Regions from separate parts of the Homo sapiens genome. Here all the other regions are linked to region 3. The links are contacts of gene promoters, found by promoter capture Hi-C in human tissues and cell types (Jung and others, 2019). All regions are on one chromosome and are shown on one strand. The core of a region is centred on a gene start or on the middle of the fragment in contact, and the rest is flanking DNA. Distances in the headings are between cores, read along the strand shown.

The links. Contacts are between HindIII fragments. The study calls those that stand out against the background at their distance.
Region 1: a fragment that was not itself captured here is called in contact with the fragment with the promoter of AIPL1 in region 3 in 1 of the 25 tissues and cell types used here (spleen).
Region 2: a fragment that was not itself captured here is called in contact with the fragment with the promoter of AIPL1 in region 3 in 2 of the 25 tissues and cell types used here (mesendoderm cells and spleen).

What each region holds. Positions count from the first base shown.
Region 1 is chr17:5,810,571-5,814,269 of GRCh38, reverse strand. All of the region lies in intron 1 of LOC339166 (a long non-coding RNA gene), which reads right to left. Among named protein-coding and RNA genes, the nearest start is that of NLRP1, 230 kb to the right of the region's middle. The HindIII fragment of the contact is 3,094 bases long and covers 1-2,956 here.
Region 2 is chr17:5,791,896-5,795,259 of GRCh38, reverse strand. The region is part of intron 1 of LOC339166 (a long non-coding RNA gene); the gene reads right to left. Among named protein-coding and RNA genes, the nearest start is that of NLRP1, 210 kb to the right of the region's middle. The HindIII fragment of the contact is 5,445 bases long and covers 1-3,364 here.
Region 3 is chr17:6,433,871-6,437,573 of GRCh38, reverse strand. It overlaps AIPL1 (AIP like 1 HSP90 co-chaperone), which reads left to right and starts at 2,453. Exons shown (of 6, transcript NM_014336.5): 1 at 2,453-2,565; 2 at 3,476-3,655. The coding sequence starts at 2,470. It overlaps LOC107985017 (a long non-coding RNA gene), which reads left to right. Exons shown (of 3, transcript XR_001752776.2): 3 at 237-276. The HindIII fragment of the contact is 7,871 bases long and covers 1-3,703 here.

The DNA of each region.
Region 1 (3,699 bases), core at 160-2,659, 620 kb after region 3:
ATCATTTTTCCTAAGTAAGAGCATTATTACTGTGGTTACATTTATTTTCTTTCTTTCTTTCTTTCTTTTTTTTTTTTTTGAGACAGAGTCTCCCTCTGTCACCCAAGCTGGAGTGCAATGGCATGATCTTGGCTCACTGCAACCTCCGCCTCCCGAGTTCAAGTGATTCTCCTGCCTCAGCCTCCCAAGTATCTGGGACTACAGGTGCACACCACCACACCTGGCTAATTTTTGTATTTTTAGTAGAGACAGGGTTTTACCACATTGGCCAGGCTGGTCTCAAACTCCTGACCTCAGGTGATCCACCCGCTTCAGCTTCTCAAAGTGCTGGGATTATGTGTTATTTTCTTAATTATATTTTCTAATTTTGCTACAGTAAACATGTATTATTTGTAATTTTAAAAAGTTAAAGTTGGCGCAGGTTAAACACATGCATTTAGCACTGCTCTATCTCAAGCCTCACTAAAATAACAATAAAAGGATTTCTTTTAAGTCATAAGCCCATTAGGTTTTAAAAGGTAAGTGAAAGGATATAACTACAACAAAATTTTGGAAGCAGGAAAGCAGCTGGAGGAGCAGTTGGAAGGGCTGTAACTAAGAAATCTGCTTCTCAATCAAGAGTAAGAAAAGCCAACAGGCAACCTGGATTACATCTCAGACCACCTGCCCCCACTACCATAGTCTGCTGGAAATGTAGATTAACATGTGACAGAAACAAAGCCATTAGTTGAGAGTCTGTGTAAGAAGATCGCAAGTCCCTTTTTCCTCACCCCTGCAGAGAACTGAAGCTTTAGTCTCTGGAAGGTCTATTCTCTAGGGAAAGGAAAAAAAATAGAGGCACTGAAGCACCCCAGATACAGCAGAGAGCAGGGAGAATTAGTAAAGGTTTGCAGACTCAGTGCGGAACCCCACCTCCCAGACTTCTTCTCGCCCTCAGCTCCCAGATTGCTAGGCAGGACATGGAAATGATCTCCAGGTCATCTGACAATCTCCAAAGGAAAAACCTAGAGATACCAACATTGAGATGCCCAGAGACCAGCTACGTGAAGCTCACAATTGACAAGCTGTATCCATAAGCGCAGCTTCCAGTTAGCTTTCAAATATGAGCTGGAACTAAGGCTCCCCAGACAGTTGAGGAGAACTTTAATGTGAAAGACAGAAACTTAAATAAGCATGGGAAAAAGAGCAGCTTGGAGGAGGCAGAGACCTTGCAGGAAAAGGGAAACTTAAAGAGAGAGAAAACTATCCATCACAGTAGTGTAAACCAAAAGTATCTGAGACAGGTCTCAATCAATTTAGGAAGCTTATTTTGCAAAGGTTAAGGACACAGCCTCAGGAGATCCTGAGGACGTGTGCCCAAGGTGGGCAGGGAACGGCTTCGTTTTATTCATTTAGGGAGACATGAGACATTAATCACTACATATAATATGTACATTGGATCCATCTGGAAATGTGGGACAACCAGGGTGGGGCTTCCAAGTCATAGATGGATTCAAAGACTTTCTGACTGGCAATTGGTCAAAAGAGTTATTCTCAATAGAGAGGAATGGCTGGGTGCGGAGGCTCATGCCTGTAATCCCAGCACTTTGAGAGGCTCAGGCAGGCGGATCATGAGGTCAGGAGATTGAGACCATCCTGGCTAACATGGTGAAACCCCATCTCTACTCAAAATAAAAAAAACTAGCCAGGAGTGGTGGCGGGCACCTGTAGTCCCAGCTACTCAGGAGGCTGAGGCAGGAGAATGGCATGAACCCAGGAGGTGGAGCTTGCAGTAAGCCGAGATTGCACCACTGCACTCCAGCCTGGGTGATAGAGCAAGACTCTGTCTCAAAAAAAAAAAAAAAAAAAAAAATCACTAGAAAGGAATGTCTGGGTAACCATAAGGGGTTGTGGAGACCAAGGCTTTATCATGCAGACAAAGACTCCAGGTAGCAGGATACAGAGAGAATAGACTGTAAATGTTTCTTCTCAGATGTACAGAGTCTGTTCTATCCATAATTCCAAAAGGGCAGAGGGGATAATGAGGCATGTCCAGCTCCCTCTTCCCATCATGGCCTGAACTTGTTTTTCAGCTTAACTTTGGAATGCCCTTGGCCAAGAGGAGGGGTCCCTTTAGATGGCTGTGGGGGTCTTAGAATTTTATTTTTGGTTTGCAGAGAGGAAAGATTGCTGTAAAAAAATAATGAGGCCAGGCGCAGTGGCTCACGCTTGTAATTCCAGCCTTTTGGGAGGCTGAAGCAGGCAGATTATGAGGTCAAGAGATCAAGACCATCCTGGCCAACATGGTGAAACCCCATCTCTACTAAAAATATAAAAAATTAGCCAGGCATGGTGGCTCACGCCTGTAGTCCAGCTACTCGGGAGGCTGAGGCAGGAGAACCACTTGAACCCAGGAAGCAGAGGTTGCAGTGAGCCGAGATCATGCCACTGCACTCCAACCTGGTGACAAAGTGAGATTCTATCTCAAAAAAACAGAAAATGGCACCGATTAAAAAAAAAGAATGAAATAACATAAACATCAAAAAACTTCTAAAATTATCAAATAGCTTCTAAAATTATGCAGAAATGAAAAACTCATTAGGATAGACGATAGAGTGAAGAGATATCTCCCAAAAGACAAAAAGGTGGAAAGGAGAAAAATATGTTAGCAGACATGTCCAGAAGGTATAATATTTAAACAAAAGGAATTTCAGAAAGGGGACCTGAGAAAATGATGAAAGGAACAATTGACTAAAAATCCCAAAACTGAAGGATCCACATTGAAAGGAAAATAATTACCAACCTATAAGTCTTTACCCAGCAAAGCTACCAATTATGTGTAAAGGTCAAATGAAGATATTGTCAGACATGCAAGATGTCAAAAGTCTATCTTCCAGGCACTGTTTCTCATGAAAACAGCAGAGATGGGTTGGTCCCCAATAAGCAGGGTAAACAGAGAAAGAGATACAGGGGACAGAGTACACAGGAGATCCAACCCAGGAGACAGGCAAAGAGAATCTCCACAATGATGTGATGGAAGGTCCCAGATGTCAACTAAGCAGCAGGCTGGGAGAACACCCACCTCTGACAGGCTGGTTAGGGGTTTCTTCAGGAAAATGAAACATATAGTATATCTGTCTGAACACCTTCTGGGGAAATCTAGACAATTGGCAGAGAGCTTGGCATTGGATTATTGGAAAATCCACAGAAAACGAGAGAAATGAAAGACCCAGGACAGTTATGAATTGCATGGAAGATGAAAGGCTGGGCCATCATAGTATGCAGAAAAGTAATCGTGGCCAGGTGCAGTGGCTCATGCCTGCAATCCCAACACTTTGGGAGGCTGAGGTGAGTGGATCATTTGAGGTCAGGAGTTTGAGACCAGCCTGGCCAATACGGTAAAACCCCGTTTCCACTAAAAATACAAAAATTAACTGGGCATGGTGGTGCATGCCTGTAATCCCAGCTACTTAGGAGGCTGAGGCAGGAGAATCACTTGAACTGGAGAAGTGGAGGTTGCAGTGAGCTGAGATCATGCCATTGCACCCAGCCTGGGTGACAGAGTGAGACCCTGTCCCAAGGGGAAAAAAAAAGAAAGAAAAAGTAATCATAGGACACTGCACGTTCCTGCTATAAAAGCACTTACATAGGGATTGTAACATAAACCTGGTGGTGATCTCACCAAAATCTTCACCATGTTTTGGGAGGAAAGAGAATGGG
Region 2 (3,364 bases), core at 181-2,680, 640 kb after region 3:
CATTTTAATCTACAGGAGGGGAAACAAGCAAGGCAAATTTAAGTAACTTGTCCAAGGTCACTGGTTAATAGTAGAGCTGGGATGCTCTTAACTGCTATACTACCCTGCCTCCCACCTGAGCTAGAACTAGGAGGTTTCTCTTTTTTGGTGGCTTCTAGATTCAGCACCTGTTACTCCCCACATGGGAGTCTCAGAGACAAGCCCTTTTCCCCATGGCTTACCACAGAAACTCTTGCCAAAATTACAATTTGATGGGGGGTGCCCTTGGCCCCTGTAGTAGCTGGGTTTCGTTCCTTCCCGGTTCTATGCCATCTGACAGGCACACTGATTCTCAAGGGTGGTGGACCCTGTCCTCAGATATAGGCACCAGCCATATCACCAGCCCGTCCTGAGCCCCAGCCCCTGGAACCTGGCTCTGCCTCTCAGCCACTTCACTCGAGTCTCTGACAAGGGCAGCTATTTTGGGTGAGAAATGGGGCAGGCAGAAAAAATTTCATTCAAGCCATTAAAGAATCACTGCATTTTTCATGATTAACTTCATGTGCGCAGATTGAATGCAAAAAGCTGTTAGCAGAGCATTTCCATTTCTGTACCTGACATGAGCAATGGGAATATTTGTTCTGCCCGGGAGGATTACACCTTCCATTAATCTCAGTTTTATTGAAAGTTTCAATAACAGACAGACACAATGTGATCAATTAGCTGTGTAATTCCAAGGAGATGTCATAGTAAAATTAAATCTCGAGCACATTCACGGCAAAGATGCCGGCAAGTTCTCTCCAGTCTCCCTTCACCATCGCAGTGTGTATATTTTAATTGAAAGTTTATTCTGCTATGTGCCTCGTCTACTAAATTTTAATTTAACATTGTAATGAAGAGGGTGTTTCTGAGGAGCTCTTCATAGACAAGTCCAGGAGGTTTCACAAATTAAGAGAACAAGTGAATTTATGGTACTTTCCAAGCTGCTGTGGGAGAAGAGGGCACCCCTAATCCTTTGGAGGGTATCTCAGGGCCTGGAGGACCAGCCCAAGGGATGTTTAGCAAGTCTGGGCAGCTGGACCAAACGGTGACCACATCATAGAAACTGTAAGGTCCCAAGAGACTGGGATCTCAGGCCAGACCACTTACAGGGGCAACAAGCAAAACAGGAAGCTCCACAGCTCTTCTCCCTTCTCCTGCCTCCAGCATCCCTCTAGTGCCCCCTAATGACAAAACCCAATAGGAAACCCGCTGGCTAAGTAAAAATGCTGTTCCCACTCTCAGCTGCAAGTTGCAGAGCTGAGTGTGGAAAGGCAAGTCTGAAGGTGAGAGGCAGTAGCTTAGTAACCAACAAAAACTTGGGAACATCCCCTTGCCCTTTTGACCTTTAGCTTTCTCAACTGTAAAATGTAGATAATAATACCCAAGTCTCAGGGTTGTGGAGAAAATCCAGCAAGACAGAGACCTAATTGCAGGGTTTGGAGGGTACAATCTAAAGGTGAGAGGAATTGGAATTGTTCTTTTCCACCACCTGTCAGAAAAATCCCAAGGGAGCTTTTCCAGACTGGAGACTCTCCTTCTTTCAGATGACACCAGAAAATGATGTCATGTAGCTGAGGTTTCAGAAAGGTCTTGGGTTAGGAGGTGACCTGAAGTTCAGGCTGATGCGGGAGGAAGACAGAGGGATAGAGCCTTCATTGTCCCCAGCAACAGAACCAAAGTAGAATGAGCATCGGCCTATTCTGTTTCGTCAAAGCCAGAAGTCAGTCTCCACATGGGTCATTTCACTGAAGCCTTGAATTTATGCCTACCAGACTGTATCTAACTTATTGTTGTAACCCAGCAGCCTGCGCAGTACTTGACCCCTGGCATGCACTCAATGTGTTGCAGATTTGAAATAGAATTACAAAACTGTAGGAATTGGGTGCCCTAGTGGCAACTGCTGGTGAGAGGTGGTATTGCAATTCAGCTCTATGAGACCCTATACATGCCCAGAAGTGAGTACATCTTTGGAAGCTGCCAGTGTGGAATCAAAGAGTTTCCAGGGAAAGAAAAAGAATATATGCCAATGTTCGGAATTTAGTTAAATGGCAAAGAAAAGGAAAAAGATGTCATCTCTGGCTTTGTTGTCTCCCACTGTACCACTTGCTCACTCCATTCCATCCACAATGCCTTCCTACCCAAGTATACCCTGCAGTCTCCCGCCTCAGGCCTTTGGCCTTGCTGTTTTCTCTGCCCAAAAACACCTTCTCATATATTCTCATGGCTTGCTTTGTGGTCCCTACTCAAATGTCACCTCCTCAGAAGAGACTTCTCTGACCACTGCATTTAAAATGGTAACAATTCCTGTCATTCTTGCATTTCTTCAATGCACTTTCTTGTTTTTCTTTAATGCACTTATTACCTGCCATTATCTTGTACATATGTATTCAATTTTTTTCTTTGTCTCCTGAATATAAATTCCCTGAGAGTAGATGTCTTCATTGTTCTCAATTTTATCCCTAGCACCTAATATATGAACATAATAGTCACTCAAAAAGTATGTGTTGAATCACTAGAGAGAAAAAGACTGTGATGTGACTTAATGACAGCACTTTTAGGAGATTTCTGCACTTCTAATAGATTTGTTGTAAGCTGTGCTGTGAAGACTTTTCTCAGCTGAGCATTGACAAGGGTCCCTGTGAGAAAAGAGGCCCACAGTCCAGAAATCACGGATTCACCCGGGTAATGAGTGCTGCCATTGTCCTTCCCTAAATGCCCCTTCTGGTCTTCAATGGTGAACACGCTTCACTAATGAAAACCAGAAGAGACATTCTGGTGAAGCCCAGGAAACGACTGATCCATGTCTGTGGTGGACAGAGTATGTCTTGCTCTCCTTTCATGGGAAAAAAAAAACCCAGCAAAGAGGCCATAAGTGCAACCTAAGACTTTAGAAGTTAGTGTCCACAGGCCCTGAGAACTCTGAGGTAGTCTGTGGAGCATTTGTCAGTGCCCCACATTTATTATATTGTTACACATTTATTGTATTGTTCTTTGTGTTCACACAAGAAAGTCATTAAATCCTCATGAAAACACATCTCTGGCTTAATAATAGAAGTTAATGGAGAACTAGGATTTGCTTTGCTATCAACTTGGCTAAAATAGAGCTCATTCTATAATGCAACCGTCATCTGAATTTGCTGTCATCAGTCCCAATCAGTCTATTCTGTATCATTTCAGATAGCTAAAGAGAAAATATTTGGAAACTTGGTAACACAGAAGATTTTTTTAACAGTTAAGACTGGAATCCACATGGAGACCAACAAGATTAACTCTTGAATGTGGCTGATATTGTGTTCATGAGACAGAAGAAAGGTACTTCAAGATGCAACACCTTCTTTTGGAA
Region 3 (3,703 bases), core at 1,204-3,703:
CAGGAATCTCCATATGAGTGAACCCAGTTTCTAATGGCCAGCATTTGCATGTCAAGGTTTGCCAGCCTGGCCCTTTAAGCAGCCTTTTCTGTTAGAAAAGAGATGGTTTGGGGGCTTGTTTTTTATTGCAGGAAAATTTCCACCAAGAACCTTTACCCTTACTATCTGCCTAAAAATTATTTCTTAATAATTCCTGTATTAGTTTTACTAAGTATCCATTTTACCTATGCATGCAGACCTCTCTAGGTTGCCGTGTGGCTGGAGAAAGGATGGAAGAGAGAAGGGGAAGGTTTTCAGCAGCCTTCTGCCTTCCAGGGATGGAGACTGGACCCTTGGGGATCTGGCCAGGATTCCCTGGGCCTGACCAGTTGGCCCAGGTTTGGTCTCCTCTATGCCAATGACTCCTCACGGGAAGCAAGACTTTCATGAGTGCCGGATTTCAGGGTGCCATTCACTGCTGCAGCCCTCCCAACTTCCCCTGAGAAGGAGCAGGAGAGGTCAATTTTCTCATTTCAGTTGGGAAAATGCAGTTAGAGAAAACGAGAGACATCCAAGGCAACAAGGTCAGTAAATAGGAAAGGATCAGCCCTTTGAACTTAGCTGTATCTGGCTCAGTCCAGTCTTCTTCTTCTTCTTCCTTCTTCTTCCCTCTTCCCTCTTCCCTCTTCCCTCCTCCTCCTCCTCCTCCTCTTCCTTCTCCTTCTTCTTCTTCTTCTGACACAGTCTCACTCTGTGCCCCAGGCTGGAGTGCAGCAGCATGATCTTGGTGCACAGCAACCTTCATCTCCTGGATTCAAGCGATTCTCCTGCCTCAACCTCCTGAGTAGCTGGGATTACAGGTGCCCACCACCACATCCGACTAAGTTTTGTAATTTTAGTAGAGATGGGGATTCATCATGTTGGCCAGGCTGGTCTCTAACTCCTGATCTGAGGTGATCCACCTGCCTTGGCTCCCAAAGTCCTAGGATTACAGCCATGAGCCACTGCACCCAGCCTAGTCTAGCATTTTTTGTTTTGTTTTGTTTTTTTGAGACAGAGTCTCGCTGTGTTGCTCAGGCTGGAGTGCAGTGGCACGATCTCAGCTCACTGCAACCTCCGCCTCCCGGGTTCAAGCGAGGCTCCTGCCTCAGCCTCCTGAGTAGCTGGGATTACAGGTGCGCACCACCATGCCTGGGTAATTTTTGTATTTTTAGTACAGACTACTAAAAATACAAAACTCCTGACCTCAGGTGATCCACCTACTTCAGCCTCCTTAGTCCCGTGTTTTTATCTCTCCCTGTAGCAGAGTCCTGCACCCCTTCCCTCTGCAACCGGTGAGCCTGGTGTCAGGAAGAGAATGGTTTCGTGGAGCTGAGTCCAGTGCCCTCAGGGTGCGGAGGTGTAGGAGCTTGAACTGGCCACACGGTGGTGCCAAACACCAGGTCTTCGCATTTATGTTTCCCAGCCCTTCTGGGCGTCCCTGATGCCCTCAATAAACTCTGCCTGGTTCCCAGGGCACAGGGCTAAGGGCCTCCAAAGGGGAGGGGAGGGGAGGGGAGGGGAGGGGATACCCACCCTTCCCCCAGCCAGACCTTGCAGGGGAGGCAGGAGCGGGGCTGCGGAGGGCGCCTCAACTTTACCCAAACCCACCCCGCCTTTCGTTCTCCGTCTTCCTTCTCTCCCAAGCCAGAAACCTGTCCCCTCTTGCCTTGGGCCACCATCGCAGGGCCTCCTGAAGGCAGATTCTGGGGAGGGGAGGGGGAACAGGGAAAGCAGAAAGGTGGCTGGATGGCAAAGGGCAGCTGTCACCCCGGCTGGCCTGGGGTCCTCGGGGACTTAGAGTCTGGGCCCAGCCCATGCCTCCCCTCCTTTTCCCCTTCAGTGGCCTCCAGGCCTCTCTCCACATCGCCAGGCTGGAGTGCAGTGGCGCTATCTTGGCTCACTGCAACCTCCGCCTCCCGGGTTCAAGCGATTCTCCTGCTTCAGCCTCCCGAGTAGCTGGAACTACAGGCGCCCGCCACCACCCCCGGCTAATTTTTGTATTTTTAGTAGAGATGGGGTTTCACCATATTAGCCAGGATGGTCTCGATCTCTTGACCTTGTGATCTGCCCGCCTCGGCCTCCCAAAGTGCTGGGATTACAGGCGTGAGTCACCGCGCCTGGTCCCCTGTCTTCTTTAAGAAAGCTCAGCGGACCTTTTTCCTTCTTGGGGTGGAACAAAAAGCCAAATCTAGCACAACCCTGGGCAGGGGCCCAGAATCACTGGAAGCAAAGGTGGATGGGATAGGAGGCGAGGCTGCCTGTGGACCACAGGCCCGGCCCGAGTGGCTCTGATGAGAAGCCGGGGCGCCTAGGTCACCGCCCCCACCGTCTGCCCTTCCCCCCACTCCTCCTGGCTGGGTAAATCCCAGAGTCTCAGCCGCCTAAGTGTCTTCCCCGGAGGTGAGATTATCTCCGCCTGTGCTGGACACCTCCCTTTCTCCTGCAGCCATGGATGCCGCTCTGCTCCTGAACGTGGAAGGGGTCAAGAAAACCATTCTGCACGGGGGCACGGGCGAGCTCCCAAACTTCATCACCGGATCCCGAGTGAGTGGGGCCCCTCCGGAGCAGACAGGGTCCCCCACAGCAGCTTTCAACATTCCAGGTGTGCCCCAAGGCACTGTAAACAGCTTTCAGCTGTGCCAAAAAAACAGCCAGGCAGCCCCAGCGCTGGGCCTCCGGGGAGCTCCCAGCGTTTACCCATTCAGGGGGCATTTTTGGTACTTTGCAGATTCAACTTTAGCATGGGCTGAGGGGAAGGGCTTTTGGGAATTTTCTGGGGCCCTAAATGTTGAGTGAGAAGAAAGGGAGTCCGAGGAGTCTTGGTATTTGTCCCCAAATGTCTGTTAGGCTTCCCTGGACTGAAGGGTGCGTCTGTGGCTACAGAATTCGGGCTTTGGCCAGGCGAGGCGGCTCCCGCCTGTAATCCCAGCACTTTGGGAGGCCAAGATGGGCAGATCATGAGGTCAAGAGTTCGAGACCAGCCTGACCAACATGTGAAACCCCATCTCTACTGAAAATACAAAAATTAGCCAGATGTGCTGGGCGCCTGTAATCCCAGTTCAGATACTCAGGAGACTGAGGCAGGAGAATCACTTGAGCCCAGGAGGTGGAGGTTGCAGTGAGCCGAGATCATACCACTGCACTCCAACCTGGGCAACAGAGTGAGACTCTGTCTCAGAAAAAAAAAAAAAAAAAAGAACTCGGGCTTACTTGAGGAAGGATTTCTGGACGCACAGGGCTGTGGGGAGTGGAATGGGGTCTGTAGGGAGGGGTGGGTCCCTCCTCCCTGGGGGGTGCAGGCAGGGTGGAGGTGCTCCAGGGGTCTGAGGCATCTGATGGGGTGAACTGAGTGAGCTGACCCTGGGGACAGCCCTGGGTGTCGGTGGCAAGGGGGTGGCTTCTGCCGGGCCTTGAACAGTGTGTCTAGAGCAGAGTGCACCGTCTCGGTGACTAGGTGATCTTTCATTTCCGCACCATGAAATGTGATGAGGAGCGGACAGTCATTGACGACAGTCGGCAGGTGGGCCAGCCCATGCACATCATCATCGGAAACATGTTCAAGCTCGAGGTCTGGGAGATCCTGCTTACCTCCATGCGGGTGCACGAGGTGGCCGAGTTCTGGTGCGACACCATCGTAAGTAGGCCCTGCGCGCCTGTCTCCTGGGACTAGTCTTTTCTGGGC